Linked DNA regions of Homo sapiens: region 1 is linked to region 2. Evidence: promoter capture Hi-C in human tissues and cell types (Jung and others, 2019). All regions are on one chromosome and are shown on one strand. The core of a region is centred on a gene start or on the middle of the fragment in contact, and the rest is flanking DNA. Distances in the headings are between cores, read along the strand shown.

Evidence for each region. The method cuts DNA at HindIII sites, captures the fragments that hold promoters and counts their contacts. A contact is called where the count stands out against the background at its distance.
Region 1: a contact is called between a fragment that was not itself captured here and the fragment with the promoter of DCSTAMP in region 2, in 1 of the 25 tissues and cell types used here (hippocampus).

What each region holds. Positions count from the first base shown.
Region 1 is chr8:104,380,806-104,386,576 of GRCh38, reverse strand. It overlaps DPYS (dihydropyrimidinase), which reads left to right. Exons shown (of 10, transcript NM_001385.3): 9 at 5,263-5,393. The coding sequence ends at 5,379. Among named protein-coding and RNA genes, the nearest start is that of DCSTAMP, 44 kb to the right of the region's middle. The HindIII fragment of the contact is 6,955 bases long and covers 790-5,771 here.
Region 2 is chr8:104,335,650-104,341,078 of GRCh38, reverse strand. It overlaps DCSTAMP (dendrocyte expressed seven transmembrane protein), which reads right to left and starts at 1,253. Exons shown (of 4, transcript NM_030788.4): 1 at 1,217-1,253. The HindIII fragment of the contact is 10,500 bases long and covers 1-5,429 here.

The sequences.
Region 1 (5,771 bases), core at 3,018-5,517, 42 kb before region 2:
AGCAGTCAATATGATTAAATTTTCTTTTTCTTTTCTTTTTTTTTTTTTAAGAGTCTCACTCAGTTGCCCAGACTAGAGTGCAGTGGGATGATCTTGGCTCACTGCAACCTCCACCTCCTGGGTTCAAGCAATTCTCCTGCCTCAGCCTCCCAAGTAGCTGGGACTACAGGCGTAGGCCACCACACCTGGATAATTTTTGTATTTTTAGTAGAGACGGGGTTTCACCATGTTGACCAGGCTGGTCTTGAACTCCTGACCTCAAGTGATCAGCCTCCCTCAGCCTCCCAAAGTGCTTGGATTATAGGTGTGAGCCACCATGCCCAGCCCAATATGATTAAATTTACTATCAACTTATGTCTTCCTTTTTCCTTGGTCATGTAACCAAAAGGCATTTCTGCAGTTATGAAAGTGTAATGATAATTGGAATTAATGTTTATTTATAGAACCACAAATTATATAATTTTCATTTCTGTCTCTCTATTAATTTGTCACAATGACAAGTATCATCAAATACTGAGAACTCAAGTTCAATTCTCATTTACCAAAGTAAACCACCGATGTCCTGCTAGGTGAGGTGCCACCTATGTCTTTTGTATTACTTATTTTTTGTGCTTGCTGCTATAACAGAATATCTGAGGCTGGTTAATTTATAATGAACAGACATTTATTGGCTGACATTTCAGGATGCTATGAAGTCCAAGAACGAGGCGCTGGCATCTAGAGAGGGCCTTCTTGCTGTGTCATCCCATGGAGGAAGGCATCACATGGCAGAAGGGCAAAGAGAGAAGAAGGGAGAGAGCCAAAGGGGCCAAACTTGTCATTTTATAAGGAATGCACTCCTAAGATAACAGCATTAATCCATTCATAAAGGCAGAGCCCTCATGGCCTAACCATCTCTCAAAAGTCTCACCTCTTAATACTGTTACAATGGCAATTAAATTTTAACATGAGTTTGAGAGGGGACAAACATTCAAACCACAGCAACAGCCTCTCATGTGGTTTTACCCTCAAGCCATTTTATTTGATTGTGATACCATCAAGATGGAAAGAATTGCTGTCAAGGTGTGATCATCTAATCTTGACCAGCATGTACTGGGGGGAAAAAATACCATAATCAAATTAGCCTTCCAACAGTGTGTTCTCAGGACTTGAGTCTCTTGAAGTATTCCTTGAGAAAGTTGTCAAATAATTTTAGATGATGTTACCCTCAGGTGATACAATTGCCCAATATCATAAAAAGTTTCAAGAAGTCCTATAGTCAAGAAATCTCCCTTCATTTAATAAATGTTTGTAGATCACCAGGCACCATTCTAGATGCTGAGGATATAGGCATTAATAAGACAGCCAGTCTGATCACAAAGAGCTTATATTCTACTTGTTTCAAACTGTGGTTCATGGTGCTTAAGTTATAGTTGTGTTTGAGCAATTTTACACCTCTTTGTGCTGTAGCTAATGAGCACAAAGGAGATAAAGGAGTCTGGAGATCAAGAGACATCAAAGCTGGAGATAAAATTTGGGAGCCATAACATATAGATTTAAAACCGTGAGTCTTAAGGTCACCAAGGAAACTATATTAGAGAAGAAAGGGGGCTTAAGATAGAGCTCTGGGCCCACCAACCTTCAGAGGTGGAGGAGAAGAGCAAGCATCAGTGGAGTCTGAGAAGGCTGACCAGTGATGCAGGAAGACCATCAGGAGAACATGGAGTCCCAGAAGGCGAGAAAAGAAACCTGCTGTCTTTGTTCAATCCAGAGTACTCTGTTTCCTCATCCTGGTTTTTCTATGTGTTTTATGCTGCATAAATGTCCTGTAAGAATTAGGTATGCTTTTAGCCAGGAGAATAGGGATGGAGTCTTTATTATCACCATATTCATCTGGGATGCCAGAGAAAGAGGCTCACTTTATTTTGACCCTGACTGCTAGTGTCAACTACATGCATTAAGCAATGGCTCTGCCATATGCTGGGGTCTGTGTCAGGCTGGGCAGTTCCTACTTCGGACAGAGGTTTGCCATCATCATTAGAGAGAAGGAATAAGACAAGGATTGCTAAGAGTTGGAGGTTAAGTCTACTTAGAAAACAAATGTGCAGCTGAACTTCTGAATAACAGCAGTGATGGTTTCAGATTCTGCAGAAGGAGTGCCATCACTTTTCCATTTTGTCACAGTGAACATCTAGTGATGTCCTAAAACATGCCCAGAGAACAATGCCAGAAGTGACAGACAGCACAAAGATGAAGAAGGCATGAGTCTAGCCATCATAGAGCTTATGTAACCCAATTCTAAGGATGAGCAAATATTAAAAGGTTAAAAGGGCTGAGAGGCTTGAGAGTAGAACTTAAGTTGTCTTTGATTTCTGTCAACTTATCTATCAAAAGGAAAGACTGTGGAGAGTGAGACAGCACAGGACTCCTGACAGGAGGCTGCTTGTTTCTGAGGTGGCCGTGCACGCAGGTGTGGCTCCCATCCATGGCCATTCTGAGAGGAAAGCAGACCTGGCCCACCCAGAGCCTCAGAGGCAGGCAAGAGAGAGAGAGGGTGCAGGTTAGACCCAGCCAGTCGGGTCAGAGACATGTGATGGTCAGCGTGACCAGGGTGACAAGCCAGACATGGCTGGCTCCATGACTGAACAGCCAGAAAGCAGTTTGTAGACAGCCAGCCACAGAAAAAGTACAGCCCAGGCCAGGCTCAGTGGCTCACGCCTGTAATCCCAGCACTTTGGGAAACTGAGGCAGGTGGATGACTTGAGGTCAGGAGTTCAAGACCAGCCTGGCCAAGATGGCGAAATCCCGTCTCTACTAAAAATACAAAAATTAGCTGGCCATGGTGGTGTGTGCCTGTAATTCCAGCTACTTGGGCGGCTGAGATATGAGAATCGTGTGCACATAGGAGGTGGAGTTTGCAGTGAGCCAACATTGTGCCACTGTGCTCCAGCTTGGGTGATGGAGTGAAACTCTGTCTCGAAAAAAAAAAAAAAGTACAGCCTGGAGAACAGATAAATGATGCAGCACAACAAAAGAGCCTGACAGAAACGGAGTCAGCCCACGCCAGGCCAAACCACAAAAAGAAGAAAGCAGGCTTAGATGGGAAGCCCCCTTCATAGCTCCCTCCCCAAAAATCCCTTCTACCCATATCTATTGAGTGCTTGTTATGAAGAAAGAGAGCAGCACACCGGCCCTCTGTCTGCTGGGGGAGACTGACGAGTGAACAGATTATTCCAGAAACCTGGGGTAAGCAAGATAGTGGATAGGGGACAGAGGGCCAAAGCTTCCTAGACTGATGATTAGCTGAGCTGAGTGATAAAAGAGAAGTCAGATAATTACACAAAAATGAAAGCGGCAGCCCAGCCCATGCAAAAGCATGGCCCTGACCGGAAGCTACCAGGAAGGATTCTGATGTGCCTGGCCTGGGTGGTGCCTGCTCCCAGAGCCTGCAAGCTGGGTTCTGGGGAAGCATCCTCTAGGTGATAGAGCAGGCTGTAGAGCAAGCCCTGTTCTGAGTGAGGAGGACAGGCCCTGTGTGTGATGGCCCCACCTGAGCCACTGGCATGGGCAGTCAGTTCCCAAGACGGAGTCCAGGACAGACAAAAAATGAACAGCTGAAAAGTGCAAGTAGTGTAGGTTCAAGGAAGTGGTGTAGGAAGAGGGAGACGGAATGGGATCTGAGGAGGGCTGCACAGCACACAGTAGGCGGCACAAAAGTCTGCTCAGTTAGGTCACATGCTCCAGAGGCACTCACTGCAAAAGAGCCTGAAGATTGAACTGAAATATACCATCGGCTTTGCTGAGTATGAATGCCAAGAGGAGCAGAGAGAAGTCAAGCCCTCTAGGTGATAGGCAGGAACGAGCTGAAAGAAGGACATAAATCTTGGTTTGCTCAGACGGGCCTGGATTATACTTACGTTAATTATGTTTAGTGCCCTTTTCATGCTAAGAAGTGTCCTACTTTGGATGATAAATTGTACAGTCACCCTAGGTTTAAGTGATATTCAGGCAGTCTGGCTTGGAAAGTCAAGTCAGGAGAAGAAAAAAAAAAAAAAAAAACAGGGACCAAGGACCTGAAAGGGAGGATGTGGCCAGAGAGTGGGGTATTAGTGAGTTTAAGGTTTCAGATGTGGTGGTCCAAGGTGGTAGAAATGGGAGGCTGGCCCTTCATTTCCTGGTGTCTGTGTTCCTCAAGATGAGAACAGGGCTCAAAGACTGAGTAGACAGTGAGCCAAAATGGAAGTCCAGCAAAGCATTTAGACAGATACAGAAAGTGAGCAGAGGCTTGGCCTGGTGAGGGAAGGGCAGGAGTCCCCCCATTTCCTGAGCACTCAGTGCACACCCGATGCAGTGCTTCAAGTTCTGTGGCTGCAGGAGCTGTGGGCCTTGTTCTGTGTTGGATCCTCGGTGTTTGGTGTACTCTCTGGGGCTGTGTGAGCTCAGTAAATATCTGCTGAATGAATGAAGAAAATGCTTTGGCTCTGGAAATTCTCCACTATCTGAGAGATAGGTTTATTTCCCCCATTTCATGGATGAGGAAGTAGGCCTGGAGGCATTAATTAACTTGTCAGTTTCCTATGCGTAGTAAATGGCAAATGGAGAATTCTAACTTAGATCTGTCTCACTTCAAAGGTCACACTGTTGATCACTACAATGTATTAGTTTGGGTGGTCAAAATGAGACCCACAATAATTTGTTATTTGTCTGTGTGTATGTGTGTGTGTGTGTGTGTGTGTGTGTGTGTGATTTCAAAACTCTGCTCAAGCACTGACAGCTCTCGCTGAATCCAGCAGAGGGTTCTGCTGCATAGTCGGTCACCAACGAGGTGAGATTCTGTGGAAGATCCATAATGCACAGAGACAGGAAAGTGGAAAGCGTACCCAATTGCTAGAATCTGAAGCAACTGCTCTGAGAGTGTTAGGAGAGGTACAAAGAAGCACTGCAAACTCAGGTGAGTAGGACTGAAACTAGAAGAAAAGGTCGGATGTTGGAAAGGACAGCAGGAGACAGTTGTGGGACTCAGAAGGGCGTGAGGATATGGCAGAGGCCCCAGTGAGTGTCCCTGGGCCTCTGTCTGAGGCAGATTAATACCCACAAAAAGTGGGACAATCCAGATTCTCAAGGTTGCCAGGAATTTCCGTGAAAGGCCAAGGGGATGGGGAGGCACGTGATAAATTTATAAGATTCTTTTTTTAAAGCTCTCGCAATTCATAAAGGGAGCTACACTTAACTTTGAACTCAAGAAAATAAACCACAAGAGAGAAATGAAATGTTCTCTTTCAGACTTGCACACCTACCCCTGTGGAGCGTGCACCCTATAAGGGAGAAGTCGCCACACTGAAATCCAGAGTGACAAAAGAAGATGCCACAGCAGGGACCAGGAAACAGGCCCACCCCTGAAGTGTGTGCCATCGGTAAGGGACTGTAGGCAAGAAAAGTCTTCCTGCATGACAGCATATGAAATTAGCATCTCTCCTCATAAGGGTTGAAGAGATCAAGGTCAGAGGCTTCACAGTGATCCAAGACTCAAGGACAATTGAGCCAAGGGAAGATTGATCAAAGCAGAACATTTAGATAAGCCTTCCAGATTGTAGAAGGCCTTGGGCTTGCTAGAGAGTCATTCTTTAAGATGTTAGGAAACATTCAATACAGCCTTGGATAATCAACTATGAGCAAGTTGCACTAAGGAGGCTGATAACATACAGAGGGAACTACTTAAGACAGGGAGTATAATTTCATGGTCAAAATTTACAAATGAATTAGGACCTTATCTGGAGAAATGAATCTTCATA
Region 2 (5,429 bases), core at 4-2,503:
TATTGCTCCCCTCTCTCCCCATTTCCAAAGCTCCTGCCTCATCTGATGTCCTGCAATTCCCATTAAGTGACACCAGTTCATTCTGACTCTGCCTGTGCAGAAGCCAATGGCTTATGCTCAACAAGCCCAGATATAGTCTGCAGACACCCCAGGGGACAATAAACCCAAACGGACAAGCACTCTGTTCTTTCTGTACTCCTCAACCAGCCCTGCCGGTCCCCTGCGGGAACCCAGTCTGAACCCATCAGCCTCCCTCACTGGCTTGATGTGAATCTCATTTTAAAAGGAATTTGATCAAAGGACAGAGCAGAACAGGAAAAGAGCGCCAAACGGAGACCTGTGGTCCAACCTGCCTCTACCCAAGCCAGGTTGCGTGGCCTTGGATAGGTCATGTCACCTCCTGGACCTCAGCTCCTATGGGCTAGCTGAGTTCTAAGGTCCCCACTAGCCCCATGCTCTCTGAAATGAAAGGTGCAGTGAGCAGCGGAGCTGGTTCTTGGAGCTGGCGTTCTGCAGTCACTTCTGAGACAGAACATCAAAGCCCAGCACCTGGGAGTGGAACAAAAGAAGAATGGAGGGTTTCTTTTCCTTTTCCTTTTTTCTCCCTTTCTTTTTTGTATAAGCTCTTGCAAACTTACAATGTGGTTCAGAATGTACTGTTCTCTCAGACTGCCAAAATAGCTTGAGCAGGAGCTGCGGCCTTCATTTGAGGTAGAGAGAACTCCTCATGACTTTGTTTTCATTGTTCTTGCCTTGGGAAAGCCAGCAAATGCCTTCCTCTGTGAAAGCAGCCTTCACACAAGAAAGGAAAGATTAATGAACGCTACTAGGTAAACAGAATAGCATTTACGGAACAATTCAGCCCATTGCTGCGTGTGCCAGGTGCCGGGAGCTGCATCGTTGGCCAGGCAGGACTGAGCCAGCCTAGGGCTCCCCATAACCACCAGGAGGATTAGCTGAGGGGATTCATAAAGTGAAGGGTGGCTCGCGTATACCCAGGCTACACCCATAAGAAGATATTCATGCTGCAGTTTTCCCTGAGCAGAGGATATTCAGATACCAACATGAAAAGACTTTCTGATACTTCCATACATAGGGAGACTGTCGGGGTATAGGGGGCCTTAAAGTATGCTCTGGTCACAATTGTTTATTCCAATTTACTAGTACTTTTTTAAAAGCAATTTTAGAAATAAGATTATTCTGAAAGTTTACTTACAGGTTTCTCTCAGATTCTTCTTCGAATGCAGAAATGCACTTCCCAAGGGCTGTAGGTCTTGATATATAGCAGGAAAAAGGGAACCAGAAGTGTCGAGAGGGTCACATCACCATGAATCAACCTCTTTATTTCCCCCATAAAGTGACTGAGCCATTTAATATCAACAAAGAGTAATGCTGATACAAATGAATAGCATATTTCTTTCTAGCATTTTCCTCAGAATAGATGTTCTAGAAATTAATTATAGAAAATAATGAAATCAGATATTTTCAAACACAAGAGAGTGAGTTGTGAAAGCTTGGACGGCCTCTCTCCCTCTTTTCTCTTTTGCCCTCACTCCCATACTCCCCACATCCACTCGAGCCATTGGGAAATGACAAGCATCCGCCATACCCACCTCTCATCCACACTTGAAGAGGCAGATGGTTCGTAGGAGCCGCCTCTGCACTCATGACCCCAGACAGGTCGAATAATTGGTTTCATGCCTCCCACTCATACATGTGACTTTCCATCTTAGAAATTTAGCTTCCAAGTCAAAAGGACCAGCTTGTGTAGTTTCGGAGAGTTAGGAAAGTCTCAAAATCTTTCTACAAAATTATTCTTTACTTTTTGTTGGAGACCCCTATTATACCTGCAAAAACCTTTATCTTAAAAAAAAAAAAAGGATCAGAATAGACCCTTGGGCTCAGGCTGGGCACACAGACTGCATGTCCCTCATGAGTCCTTTGTGTAAGGGGCTGACTTAGTCCTGAAGATGAAGAGAGCTGTTGAAATGAGATGTTTTCATTTGAACAGGAAGGATGGGACTGCAATGTGGGTGTCTGATTGAGTCATCCAGAAGCAGCCATGGTGGCCCCAAGGGAGGGAAGGGTCAGGGAGTGGGCAGGATCTTGAGGAAACGGCCCCAGACTTTGGTGAGTGGGAAGTCACTGGTGTTTCTGGAAGAGCCATTTAGGCAGGGGCCTAGGGGTGGGCACCACTCTTCAGTGGGCTGGAGCGTGAACTGGAGTGGGAGGAGGGGAGGAGCAAGCCAACCGGCTGGACTGGATGGGGTTCCTTTGTAGTAGTGCTAGGGATGGAAATGGAGAGGGAGAAGGCAGCAGTAGAGAGGTAGTGGTTTGAGTTTGGGGAAAACTAGATGAAATTTAGCATATCAGCCTCACAAAGAAGAATAAAGATAAGAGAGAGATGTTGGTACTCCCTGAGGAGGGAGGGAGGAAAGCTGAGGGCAGTTGCAACTTTCTTGGGGAAGGAGGAGATGGAGCCTTCTGAGAACGGGGGATGGAGACAGAAGTTGCTGGATCATGGAGAACAAACCTGGGGGCAGCTGCAGAAGAAAGAACTGGGAAGAGGAAATGGAGGGGCTCCCAGCTCCCACAACCAAAAATGGAGTCAGTGACATGGTTTTGAGAGTCCCCAGCAATTCCCAACTTGGGAGTGAAAGAAAAAGGCTGATTTGACAATACCTATACAAATTTATAAGCTACTAGAATTAGTCATTCCAAGAATTTATCTTATATTTGCATGGTATGTGTGTGCAGTGTGTATGTGTATGTGTACGTGTGTGTACAAATCCACCATATGCCTCTCTATGCCAGCTGGATAGCTAGATACACAGATCAGCATTGATTGTAATAGAGAATATGTAGAACAACCCACATGTCTATCAATTGGGAATTGGTTACATAAGTGTTCATATCTCCAGTAAAATGACTTATTCCCATAATGTATCCTTCTTCCAACTGAAATGGTCTTCCCTTCCTCTCCTTCCTTCGGGAAGCCTTCACAGGATATCTCATATCTTCCTGATTACTCCCTTAGTAGATGCTAAGGTATTCCCCACCATATCAGTTTTCATTCTCTTTTACCACCCTGCAGTGGTAGATCCCAATTAATGACCTCTCTGTATGCATGACCTTTGCCTTGTAACTTTGTAGTTCCCACCCAATTTGAATCTGGGCTTAACCATGTGGCCCGGTTTGGCCAGGAGGTAGGTAGTAAACTTGATACACGAAAGAAAGAAAGAAAAAGAAAGAAGAAAGAAAGAAAGAAGAAAGAAAGAAAGAAGAAAGAAAGAAAGAAAAAGAAAGAAAGAAAGAAAGAAGGAAAGAAAGAGAAAGAAAGAAAGAGAAAGAAAGAGAGAGAGAGAAAGAGAGAGAGAGAAAGGGAGAAAGAGAAAAAGAAAGAAAGAAAGGGAGAGGCCAATTGGGTTTAAAACTCAGAGACCCCTACAAATTGGTGCAACTTAAGGTGGAGGGGCTGTGATATAGGCAGATGAGATTCAGCTGGTGCTGCAAGATTTCTTTCCTGCACTCCTAGAGAACTCAGAGAATGGAAAAGCTATGCTCAGCTGGGAATTTTAACCTGATCAGCTCAAATGTTGTTTAATTACTTTGAAAGTCTGTAGTTAGTGAGCTGGACTCTTTGAGTATCCACCTGCACTTCTCAGAAGAATAGCCTCAGAACAGCAATGGTTGGTTAAGAGGGCCTGAGAAACAGGAATCATCCTGATTTTAACGCCAACGCCATTGACCAAATGAAGTCAGGGCCTGAACTTCCAGGACATCTCTGGGATTCTGCCTCAGGGGCCCAGCAAGGAGTAGTCACTGCTGAAATTACTGTATGACCCTAAGGTCAGGAGCATCTTCTGTTCTTTCTCTTGCCATCAAGGAATCTCTGTCCTGCAGAGGTGGTTTTAGGTTTGATGAGTCACAGAAGCACAGATAACACTAGGCTCACTTCAGACCCATGACTCACCCAGCCCAGGAACTCCTCTAGAAAACCAGCATAGAGAGAGGGTGTTTTGTGAAGCAGCATGGCCTGACATAGACAAGACTTGTCGCTTTGTCCCTTTAGTAGCTTTTAACCCCTTAAAAATTGCTATGGCCAGGTGTAGTAACTCACACCTGTAATCCCAGCACTTTGTGAGGCCAAGGTAAGAGGATCCCTTCAGCCCAGGAGTTTGAGACCAGCCTGGGAAACACAGTGAGACCACATCTCTATTTTTAAAATAATTGTTACAGTCTTTCCTGAATAACCTACTAGAGGTAATAAGTTTCACATGTTGAATGAAGAATGTGAGAATTCTATTCTATGAGTCCAGCTGTGCTTTCTCTGCCCTAAAGCACTCTCCTTTTCATTTCAGAGTGATGTTCCCAGGTGTGTTCTTCTGAGACCATCAGTTATATCCTTCACAATGATAGATCTTGACCATTTCTGCTATTTCTATAATGAAATCTTTTAGTGTTTTGCACTCACTTCTGTACTGAAGCTGCTTCCCCGCCTTGGCCTTTGTGTTCTCCCCAGGATGGGAAAAGCTCCATCTGCTTTTTTCTGCCATCCAAGACCACTTTTCAAGCACGGCTGTGCACCAAGCCCTGTACAAGGTCCCTGGGCTCCCCTGATGAAAGAGGAGAGATTGCAGAAGCTCATGTCTGGCTGTTAAGACAGATACACACATAAAAAAGTCTACACAGAGGGAAGATAAAGTTACATAGAAAGGCCTGAGGGAGATGCAAGGAGGATTCCTGAATGCTCTCAGCGAAAGAAGGTGGGTCAAGGGAGAGCCAAGAGAAGCCAGAGGGAAGGAGCATGAGTAAAGGCACAGAACTCTGCAAGTGCCTGTGTGGCCCCAGTGGGTGCTCGCCCTGCAGCCCTCTCCCTTCCTTGCAGTCAGATCATGGATATGAGACTCAACACTGACCAATGGGACCCAAGGGGAAGTCTATGGGGAGCTCATAGGAGAGCGTTCCTCTCTCTTAAAACAAGATGAATAGGAAGGAAACTGTTCATTTTTACTGGACGCTGTTTTGCCCGCATGTGTGACTTCAACAACTGCAACACTTTTTATAATATGAAGGTGGACAGAGCCAGAAGATGGGAAGCATCTGTGTCCTTAATAGCACTTTTAGCCACTGAACCAACCTTTGATCCTCTCTACCCACCAGACCCCTGATTTGGGAGACAATAAATATCCTAATTGTTCAAGCCACTTTTAAAAATAGACTATTTTTTAGAGAAGTTTTCGGTTCACAGAAAAGTTGAGCAGAAAGTAGAGCGATTTCCCACATACCTTCATCATCACACACGTACAGCCTCCCCCAATATCAACATCCCCCACTGTGGCGGTGCATTTGTTATAATCAATGAACCTACATTGGCACTAATCACCCTACATCCATCATTTACATTAGGCTTCTCTCTTGGTATTGTA